Linked DNA regions of Homo sapiens: region 2 is linked to region 1. Evidence: promoter capture Hi-C in 16 types of primary human blood cells and fetal thymus (Javierre and others, 2016). All regions are on one chromosome and are shown on one strand. The core of a region is centred on a gene start or on the middle of the fragment in contact, and the rest is flanking DNA. Distances in the headings are between cores, read along the strand shown.

Region 1 (5,545 bases), core at 896-3,395:
AAAAACGGGTTTAAAATGTCTTATCTGTATGATTATTGTAAGGATTTATTGTAATGATTTTCAAACAACTAGCCACATTCAGACACAAAATACATGACAGCTATTACTAATGCTGTTATTGCTTGGCAAAGGGATGTATGTAAACATCAGTCAGTTCTTCCTTTTGTAGCATAACTCTCAGATTTCCACTTAATTTAAATGCAGGCATAAAACAAACCTAGGTTTGTTTTAATTTTATCTTTATAATACAATTATTGTAATTTAAATATGATATGTTTTAAGTCCTTCTGAAATAAGCATACATACCTTTTCATTCCACATAAGTCAAATTATATGCTCTAATACATATATGAATATTCAAGATATCACAGAGGGATATAATGCGTTTACCAAATGGATAGCAAAACAATCTATTCCTGAATGGGAAAGTTTTACTAAAGTATAATGAGATCATACTTCCATATGAAAATATCAAAAAAGTAATGTATACTGGTAATTTGCTTTATGATGCAATATAATGGGAAAATAACACACACTTAAAAAAATCACAAAGAAGGAAAGATGAGACAAACTAATGGTGTATACAAGTAACACATCCCATATGGAAAAAATGAGACACCTTTCATAAATCGCTTGCTCCACAAGTCATAAAGCATACCTAAACATTCTGTTCTTTGTATTTTTCAGAACAGCTAAAACTTATAGTTCATTCATGCTTGAAATGTAGTTTACCTTTAAATTTCTATGAAAAATTAAAAATTTATTTCTATATTTATAGCACTTGCAATGCAGCATTATAATTTCTTAGCTACAATGATGCAAATCATTAAGAAGTGGGAATGTATAAAATATTGAATCACTGTCTGATTACTCTATTTGATGAATCTCCTGGACTTTTTCAGTTTGTACCAAATGGCTTTCTTCCCTACTTCAAAATTATAGCGCAGATCAGATTTGTCAGAATATAATCAGAACAAACATTCCTTCCCCATCAAGGAATCAATGCAACCTATTCATTTGCTACATTTTTACCTTGTTCTCTTCCTGCCTTGTTACCTTCTGAGGAAGTTCTGGCATGTTATAAATGTGACAGGAAAAACTACAATCACATTTGTTTGGATCAGTGTGTGCAAATTTTGGAATCAAACCTTCAGATGAGGTTTACTAAGCTGCCTGCCCAGAACACTCTGGTTTAAAAAATGTGCATTGCTATTAATATTTTGAGTGTAGATTTATTTTGGACAGTAAATGTTCATTTTCTGCCCATAAAACCAAGTATGAGTCACAACGGAACATTTACTTCGAGTCAAAAATGCAATGTGTACTGACGTTCAAGAGCAGAGCATCTTATCACTATGACTGTGGCAATCAGCCGTACTAAAAGTCACCATTCCTTTTTCTTCTTTAAAAGTAAATTTGAGATCAAAGGCCATAATCCTCAATTCATAAATCCTAGCATTAACTTCTATCCATAAATGACTTGCAGTAATTAAGAGCCATAATCTGGGTTGGCTGCAAAGAGGCTCTCATTCCCCTCTTTACCTGGTTCCATAGTACATGTGCATAGATGGAAAGTAATTCATTAAAGGCGGTACGGGCAAGCTCTGCAAAGCCTATCCATCAAAAAATTCCAGGAACACCACAGTGAGTGAGTTTAATTTCAGGATGTCTGTTATCCAAATTCCAAGCATACACACCACCATATATACAGTCCTCAGCTCCCAAACTCCATGCAGTATGTCCCAAAGTTCATGTCTCAGTATCAGTATTACTGTATAGCAGTAACTAATTCCAGAAAGTCTTGCAGACTTTATCTTGCTTGGGAAGTTGAGGTTAAAAGTTCTAGAAGGAGTATTCTCTCTTTGTAATCGTGTAAATTATTTTACCTGGAGTTTTAAGATAAAGACACACACACACACACAAACACACATACACACACACACCCCCAACAGCACCCAGACTCAATGGCAATAGCAATGCATTGAAATGAAAAGGCATTTACCAGGAGCAGGAAAGCCAGAAAGAGGAGCAGTGTGCCAGGAGTTGCCCGACGGCAGCATTCCATGCTTGGATCCTTGCCGGAATCAGAATCGGACACTGAATAAGCTGCTAAGTGCTCCTCTGCCTGCTGTCACATCCAGTACTGGTGCTAACACTCCAGTCCTGCCTATCAGCTTCCATCAGCCCCTCTCACATTTCCTGACCGAGGGGTGGGTGGGTGGATGGGTGGGGGGTAAGCTGAATGGAATCTCTCTCGGAGCAGGCAGCCAGCCAATCAGGCTCCTGCTAATCAGACATGCTGAATAACAAAGCCAGGAGGACAGAGAAAGTGTAACGGTGCGAGCAAAAAAGGGGGAAAAGGACGAAAAAGAAAGGCGAGCGAGCAGCAGAGCGAGAAGGGAAATGCAAAAGATGCAGAATTGCAAAAGATGAAGCCAAGCACTGTGCTTCCCATGGACCTGGTTAGTTCTTTGTGAGATGCATTTCTATTTGCCATTTGCCTGTGCTGATGTCTGTTGCTTTGTAAAGTACAGTAGCTCCCTGTGACTGTGTATTGTTCCATTCAGGAGAGAAACTTAATCCCTGTCAATATATAACATATGCCATAAAGGGAAAGAACCATAGACAAAAACCGACTTAATGTGCCCTGTAAATGTGTTCTGTACAACTGTTTTATTTCGCCTCCATAAAGTTCCTCTTTACTTTCTCTCTTGACTTGCAAAATAAATACTCTATACATTTTCTGAAGGTTCCTCACTAAGCCTAAACAGTGGCATAAGTTATTTTGTGTTATTAAGGACTTAATTTGGGGGGAAAAAAACAAAGCAAGTTGCTTCTCTGTAAAGTGACAATTGAAGGCATTTAAGATTTGCTAATTGTAAAGGCACAATTAGAAACTTAGATCCCCCAGTTTAAAAAGAAACCCTCAACAAAGACTCCAGGATGAGTGGGGCTGAAATTTGGGGTTGAGGAGCAGCCTGGTTTTGATGCACTGCCAACTCTCAACTATCTATTTTAGCCACGGGAGAGAAAGAAAGGATGAATTAAATCCTCAGTTAATCCCCAAACCTTCTTTTAACCAAGTTTCAGCTTCCTCCGCACCTCACCCACGTCCTTTATCAGAGCTGTTATAATGCAGAAAAGGCTGAACTGAGTTTTACCTCATTTTTCCATCCACTATTGCAAGAGGGTTGGATGGGATGACCTTGGAGGCCAGTCCAGCCCTGAAGGAAGTGCTAATGAGCAGTGAAATGACGACAAGGCCAGCAACAGCAACGAGAAGGTCAGGAAGCTTCTGAAGCTGCTTAATCCACCAGCAAGGGAGATTTGACTCTACTAGAGGAAGGTTTTATTACAGTTTTAGAAAAGTGTCAAATGTCAAACAAGGATGTATTTCCCCTTATCTGCAAAGGAAATCATTGAGTTTTGAAAGAATAAAAGAGCAGCCCTGGCCTTACATTGCCATAGGTGTGTCATCAGGACGTTTTCCCTTTTCAGATCTCCTGATAGCCCAGAAATATATGCAGTGGAGGTACAAGACATTTAGAATTAATGTTCTTTCCTTTCATTATTAAAAAATACTGACAAGAGGTATGAAACACACGAATATGGAAAACCTGATCAAGCCATAATGGGCATGTGAATACAGGCAGGTCTGCCTATGTACATACCTGCTGCGTTGCTTTTCAAAAAGGTGAAGAAAAGCAGGTTGTTCAACTTTAGGTTACCTACTTCATATGGTATATCAATTAAAGAGAGAGAAACTTTAAAAATCCTATTTTCATGCTGTTAGGAAAGTCAAGGTCATACAAAGATTATCCTTTGTTCTCAATATTAAGTATGTGGACCTAGAAAAATGGACAGTACAAATCCATAACAAAGAGAGCCCATTCTTGAAATATGCTTTTCCCTTTTAGAAAGATTTGTTTTACAAATCTCTCAAAAACTAGCTAATGCTCATAAGCTAAAGCGTATTCACAAGTAGATGTAAAAATGCTTAACTTTGTCTTTCCACTATTGTTTTTGTCTGAAATCCTCATCACATTAAAGAAAGGTGATTGATTGAAATAAACTTTCATTCATAAAGCTATGTTACATGTGTCTCTCTGTTACACACCAGAGCTTTCTGCTAAAGGGTTTATTTTTTTCCCTCCTATCACAGTCATTAACTGAAGAGTTTCAGCTAGTTCTATTAATGGAACATTTTACCTAATACCACCTCCTCCCTCTTCACACATAAACCCTGCTCATTAAGCAGATCCAAAGGGAAGAATAGGTAATGGGAGAAAGAAAAGTAGCAACAAAGCTAATGATGAGATACTATTTGTAGAGGAACAGAAAAATAATCAGCATGGTCAGAAAATAACTGGGAACCACTTACATGCTAGTTTAGATTCTTTTCTGCTTTGCAAATAAATACTGCCTAGGTATTTTGAGTCAGAAATTTCTGCCTTGAAGTTTTAATGGGCATGCTAATGTACAGCAAGATGGTCATCTCAATGAAGTCACCGAATAATATACTATTTTAAAGTTAAGCCCTCAATCACCTGTTGAATGCCTGGAGGATGCCCACCACACTGTCTCATGCTTCTGATTCCTCACAGCATTTTCTTTCCTCTTGGGAATACCCAGAGAAACTAGGAAAAGCAATTGCACATCCAGAGCTACACAGTACAGGTGAAATTACAAATTTACTATAACTTCAGAAAAGGGAGAACAAAATCAAGTTGGGTTAAGGTGACTGGGAAAAGTTTTGGTCATGAACTAATTTTGATGATGGCCAAAATGTACATGCCATCTTTATGGTTTACAAAGTGATTTTACATTTATGATCTCATTTGACCTTTGTGACTACTTTTTGAAATTAAGTAATCACCCCATTTTATGTACGTGGAAACTGAGGCTCAGAGAAGTTAAGTGACTTGACTAAAGCTTTGCTGGCTAGAACTGGCCATTGAGCCACGGTTTACCGAATCTAAATCCACCCTCATCTCATATTCATATATATGCATTATATCTATATATGATGTATACACATACATATATTCAGATGTTGGCAGTGATGTTGTTGAAGGGGGATGTTTATAGGAAAAGGAAAGTAGGCTACCAGGGTTTACCATGGGTATATGTTACCTGACGATGGAAAGTATCTTATTTTAGCCTCCAGCTTCTATGTGTCTTGACTTTCTCATTTCTAAAACGTTTTCAGCACCTAGGAAAAGTAATGTAAAACTTTAGGTAATCTAGATCCATATTAATGGCAACCGGGGAAAGGCCACTTACGGCATCTGAGCAGGGCGTTGGCCAAATTCCTTTTTTCCTCTTCAGGTATCTAAATTAAAACCGTCTGCAAGTGTGTGAGCAGCAGCACTAGCAGAAGCCGTGGCAGCTGAATAATACTGGTTACTGGCTCCATGCACAACATATTAGGTGAAATGAAATCAGAAGCAAGAGAGAGAGAGTGTCAGGGCTGTCTGAAGCATCATTCCAAATGGTATGGATTTAACAATACTTAATTGAAAAGACACCAGCTTGGACAGAAGCA
Region 2 (5,545 bases), core at 2,035-4,534, 540 kb before region 1:
CCAATGGACATTTTTTGTTGTGGGGCCTGTCCTGTGCATTGTAGGGTGTTTAGCAGTATCCTTGACCACTACCCACTGGATGCCAGTGGCACCTACCCCACTTTTGACAATCAAAAATGTGTCTGCACATTGCCACATGTTTCCTTGGGGGCAAAATTGCCCCCACCTGAGAATCACTGGGCTAGAGGCATTCTCAAGCCATGGGTTATGCTTTTATTTATTTATTTACATATTTATTTTTTGAGAAGGAGTCTTGCTCTGTCGCCCATGCTGGAGTGCAGTAGCGCAATCTCGGCTCACTACAACCTCCGCCACCTGGGTTCAAGCGATTCTTCTGCCTCAGCCTCCTGAGTAGCCGGGACTACAGGCGTGCACCACCATGCCCAGCTAATTTTTGTACTTTTAGTAGAGACAGGGTTTCACCATGTTCGTCAGGCCGGTCTCGAACTCCCGACCTCAGTGGATCCACCCGCCTCGGCCTCCCAAAGTGCTGGGATTACAGGCATGAGCCACCATGCCTGGCCGGGTTATGCTTTTATAGCCTTGCATTAATGGCTTTATCACAGGAATGGATCTTATATTATTGTCCTTGGAGAGGGACAAAGCTTTTCTCATGATGGTGCCCTTCCCCTGCATGTGAATGTCTGAATCTTCAGTATTCTCAGCCTTCAGTGTACCTGAGAATCAACTGGAGAGCTGTTTGAAGGATGCCAATTTCTGGGCCCTACTTCATACACTTTAATTCTGTGGGTCTGAGGCTCAGGAATCTGCAAGTTTTAACAACTTTGGTGATTCAGATGCAGGTGGGTGATGGACTACACTTTAAAAAACACATGGTTACTTCATTGAGTGTCAACCTCAAAAACACAAAGGTGTGTTTTTTCAAAAAGAAGAGATATGTCTGGGTGCCATGGCTCATATCTGTAATCCCAGCAACTTGGGAGGCTGAGGCAGAAGGATCGTTTGAGGCCAGGAATTTCAGACTAGCCTGGGCCACATAGTGATACTCAGTCTCTTAAAAAAAAAAAAAAAAAGGGCCAGGCGTGATGGCTCATGCCTGTAATCCCAGCACTTTGGGAGGCAGAAGTGGGTGATCACTCGAGGTTAGGAGTTTGAGACCAGCTTGGCCAACGTGGTGAAACTCCATCTCTACTAAATATACAAAAATTAGCCGGGCGTGGTGGTACACACACATAATCCCAGCTACTTGGGAAGTGGAGGCATGAGAATCACTTGAATCCGGGAGGCGGAGCTTGCAGTAAGCCAAGATCACGCCACTGCACTCCAGCCTGGGTGACAGGATGAGACTCTGTCTCAAAAACAAAAAATAACAAAACAAAAATAATTAGCCAGACATGGTGGTGCACACTTGTAGTCCCAATTACTTGGGAGGCTGTGGCATGAGGATTGCTGGAGCCCAGGAGCTTGAGGCTGCGGTAAGCCATGATCATGCCATTGTACTCCGGGCTGGTTGACATAGGAAGGGATACAATTTTAAGACTTGCAAATCTTTTTAGTTATTGATTAAAAAGAAGCAAGGTAAAGATGCTGTCTGTCCTTAGGCTTTTTTGGAAGGGGTTGTGTGGAAGCAGCTTTGACACGTGACACCAGCACTTAACGCCCTTCATCATCATCAGCAGAAGTACTCTCTCTCGTTTTTTAGCTCTGATTTGCCTTACATCTTTCTCAGGAAAGGATCGTTTACTCTCCACCCCCTTAAGTATTAGAGAAAACTCAAGGGGAGGTTTTTATGTTTTCACGATCTCTGAGGTCTCTTCACTGGTCTTGTTTATTGGTCTTGACTTCCTAACCCCGGCAGGAAGAGGGAACACTGACCCTCAGCAGCACTGGCTTTATTTTTCATGTAGAGCCTCTATGGTTGGATGTTGTCCAACATTCAGTTGTTCCCCAGGAACGGAGGAGACAACAGGTAGGTAATACCTGTGACAAAGCTGTGGACCTCCTGAGCCTCTAAGCCCCTCTCAGAGGAAGTCTTAAATCTATGAAAGAAGATCCTATCCACTGACAAAGCATCTTGTAGTTTCAAAGTATGTTTGGTGGCTTCTTTGAGCTACTTGGTTCTATTTTCACTCCTCTATCTGGGGCTAGTCAGTGATATTTCCGATAGCAATTTTTCTAAAACTCCTATCAGGCAATTTTGCCAATTTTTTTTTAAATTTTTAAAATTTAATTAATTAACTTTTTTTTTTTTTTTTTGAGACACAGTTTCGCTCTGTTGCCCAGGCTGGAGTGCAGTGGCGTGATCTCAGCTAACTGCAACCTTGCCCCCCAGGTTCAAGGGATTCTTGTGCCTCAGCCTGCCGAGTAGCTGGGATTACAGGTGCCCACCCCCACGCCCAGCTAAGTTTTTGTATTTTCAGTAGAGATAGGGTTTCTCCACGTTGGCCAGGCTGGTCTTGCACTCCTGGCCTCAAGTGATCTGCCCACCTCAGCCTCCCAAAGTGCTGCGATTACAGGTGTGAGCCACCGTACCCGGTGATTTTTGCCAATTTAAAGCCTTTGATAGTTCTCCATTGATTACAGAACAAATTCTACCCTTAATCAAGCCCCTACTCTACCTTTCCAGCCATTCCTCCTCATGCTGCCTGTGTTCCAGGCTCACCAAACTATCCTGAGGACGTTTAACTCTCTGTATACTAACTTTATTCATACGTTGTTATTAACTATACTGACAACCTGTATTTCAGACTCACCAGACTCTGTTACAGACTAACATGCCCAGCTCACGAACTGGGTGCCTGCTAAATATTTTTTCTAAAAAGTGCATATTGGCTGCTAACATGTAAAATCTCATGAGTTTTAAATATCTGGGCTGGGCGTGGCGCCTCACACCTGTAATCCTAACACTTTGGGAGGCCGAGGCGGGTGGATCACCTGAGGTCAGGAGTTCAAGACCAGCCTGGCCAACATGGTGAAAACCCGTTTCCACTAAAAATACAAAAATTAGCCAGGCATGGTGATGCACGCCTGTAATTCCAGCTACTTGGGAAGCTGAGGCAGGAGAATCACTTGAACCCGGGAGGCAGAGGTTGCAGTGAGCGGAGATTGTACCACTGCATTCCAGCCTGGGTGACAGAGCCAGACTCTGTCTCAAAAAAAAAAAAAAAAAAAAAAAATCCGTACTTTTAGTTTCTTCTGAAATACCAAAAGACGTGACAGTATTGTGACTGCATTCCTAAATGGTAATGGTCAGCTCTTGCCCTGAGACAGGATGTGTTCTATCTATAGCCATCATGGAAAAAGGTAAGGGGAAATACTGTGAAACTTTCCCCTCCTATTTCCCACAAGAGGGCAATCTAATCTCTAAGAAAGTAAAAGGGACTGGCGTTGCAAAATCTGCTATTATAGCCTGGCTTTGTTACCCCCGCAGTGGTGAAGATCTTTAGGCACCCACCTGCATTTCGTGTGCTGAATTGCCATGCCTTATGCCTTATGCCTTGTGCTGTTATTTAGTCTTTCATCGCTTCTCGGCCTTTTGGCTAAGATCAAGTGTATTTAGTCTTTCACAAATTCCTTTTTTTTTTGGTGTGGTTCCCCTCCAGGATCTATCTGGAAGGCCAGTTTGATGAAAAGGCATGCAAGAGGTGCCTGTGTGTAGCTTCTGGAGCCACCTTCAGCCTAGGTGGAGGTTGTGAAAGGTTGGCAGAGGCCTGATGAGGCAGGGTTGTTTCTAGAGAAAAGCGTGACCTATAGAAACAACCTCACAGCCTAGCATTACTTGATGGTGCTTTTTGTTGGTGCAGAATCTTGATTTCTGTCAGCACCCTGAGAGAGCAGCCCCCTGAGCTCCGCAGCGCCTCCCTTAATATTAACCTGGCTAATACAGACTGCTGTGTAAACTGAAATGCCAATTTATTTAGAATGAGACAGATCTACTGAGAGTGCCTAGAAACTCATTTTTGCTGGTCAGAGTATACTTTCTGTTTAGAAAAATTAAAAGTAAGCCAAAATATAATCACAGGTTGCTTGTCTGAGTTCTAAGCAAGGGGACTGCTGCCATTTGCACGTTCTGATGTATCCTTCTGAGATTAGGGACTGGGTGGGTTGAGCCCCTCTGCCAGGCCTCCTTATCCAGACAGTGCTTGTAGGTACCTTGCTAGAGTTGCCCATCTAACTCTGTGCCCACCGTCCCCCATATGGTTCGTGCCACATTGACATATCTTTAGATATACCAACACCACAAAGTTGATTACATTCACATGTAGCATTTTTCACTCTAGGTCCTATTTACAGTTGTCTATTACAGATTATTTTAATAATTCAGACCTAAGGATTTGGGGAGGATTAGGGGTGAGGCGCCCTAGCGCCTCTAACTGTCCCTAAAGAGATTGCAGAGGTTTCAGAAAGTAAAACTAGCTCTTAACCCCCAGATGGTAAGTGGTATAGATGAGAGAAAAAGGCTCTAAATCTTATTTTCTCTAGTTTTTCTTCTCTTTATTTGCCTTTGGTCAAAAGAAAACAAACATCTATATGCCTCATCTTTTTTCCTCTCTCATTAAAAAAAATCTATCCTTGCCGGGCGTGGTGGCTCACGCCTGTAATTCCAGCACTTTGGGAGGCCAAGGTGGGCGGATCATGAGGTCAAGAGATCGAGACCATCCTGGCCAACATGGTGAAACCCCGTCTCTACTAAAAATACAAAAATTGGCCGGGCATGGTGACCTGCGCCTGTAGTCCCAGCTACTTGGGAGGCTGAGGCAGGAGAATTGCTTGAACCTGGGAGGCAGAGGTTGCAGTGACCTGAGATTGTGCCACTGCACTCTAGCCTGGCGACAGAATGAGACTCCATCTCAAAAAAAAAAAAAAATCTATGCTTAATAATGGTAAAATTGAAATGGTTTAGTAAGAATATGGAATTTGAGAAAGAAGAGGAGGGAGGAAGAAAGAGCTGAAGTGGTTCGTAATTGGCATACTTAGATTTTGTGTTATTTAAAAACTGGATTTGGTTGTTAAAACTGGTAATTTTTTCCATCAGTTTGGGTTGAATAACATAGCCATATTCCATTAGGTAAAACTAATACTGAGTCGGTGTATCTACCCATCTATCCAAATCCTAGTTTTGACCCTACTTTCCACCAATTTGCCGATAGGATGTTGACTTAGCCTTGGGCCCTACAATTTAGGGTTTAGCTCTGGGCACACAAGAAACTTGGATGCTTATGAAAACTTTGGGTAAGTTTTATTCATGTGCTCAATTTAGGGGACAATCTGCATGTGCATCGGGCGTGTCTCTTTCAGCCATGTTTTGTTTAAGTCATCTATGGCCTTGGGGTTCCCAGTGCAAGAGATGAAGCAGGGCATGAGTGTTTAGTGACACTGTGGGGTTGTGCCCATTCTTGCCTCCCTCGTTAGAAAGTGGCAATGGGCTCAAATGCCTCAGCAGGTAGTTTGATAGGATTTGGAGAAATGGGACAGTCAGAAAATGAGTTATTTGATACTGAAGTTCAGTCACGCATGTATTTAAAAGCCTTTTTAGTGCTCTGAACTTGGCTTAGGTTTAGGGTGCTATTAGGGTAAGTAGAAT

What was found. The method cuts DNA at HindIII sites, captures the fragments that hold promoters and counts their contacts. A CHiCAGO score of 5 or more calls a contact.
Region 2: a contact is called between a fragment that was not itself captured here and the fragment with the promoter of ADAMTSL1 in region 1, in 1 of 17 cell types (endothelial precursors). The highest score is 7.4, in endothelial precursors.

What each region holds. Positions count from the first base shown.
Region 1 is chr9:18,470,753-18,476,297 of GRCh38, reverse strand. ADAMTSL1 (ADAMTS like 1) reads right to left here and starts at 2,145. Exons shown (of 29, transcript NM_001040272.6): 1 at 2,003-2,145. The coding sequence starts at 2,065. The HindIII fragment of the contact is 3,309 bases long and covers 1-3,294 here.
Region 2 is chr9:19,011,133-19,016,677 of GRCh38, reverse strand. All of the region lies in intron 1 of SAXO1 (stabilizer of axonemal microtubules 1), which reads left to right. Among named protein-coding and RNA genes, the nearest start is that of SAXO1, 19 kb to the left of the region's middle. The HindIII fragment of the contact is 5,353 bases long and covers 608-5,545 here.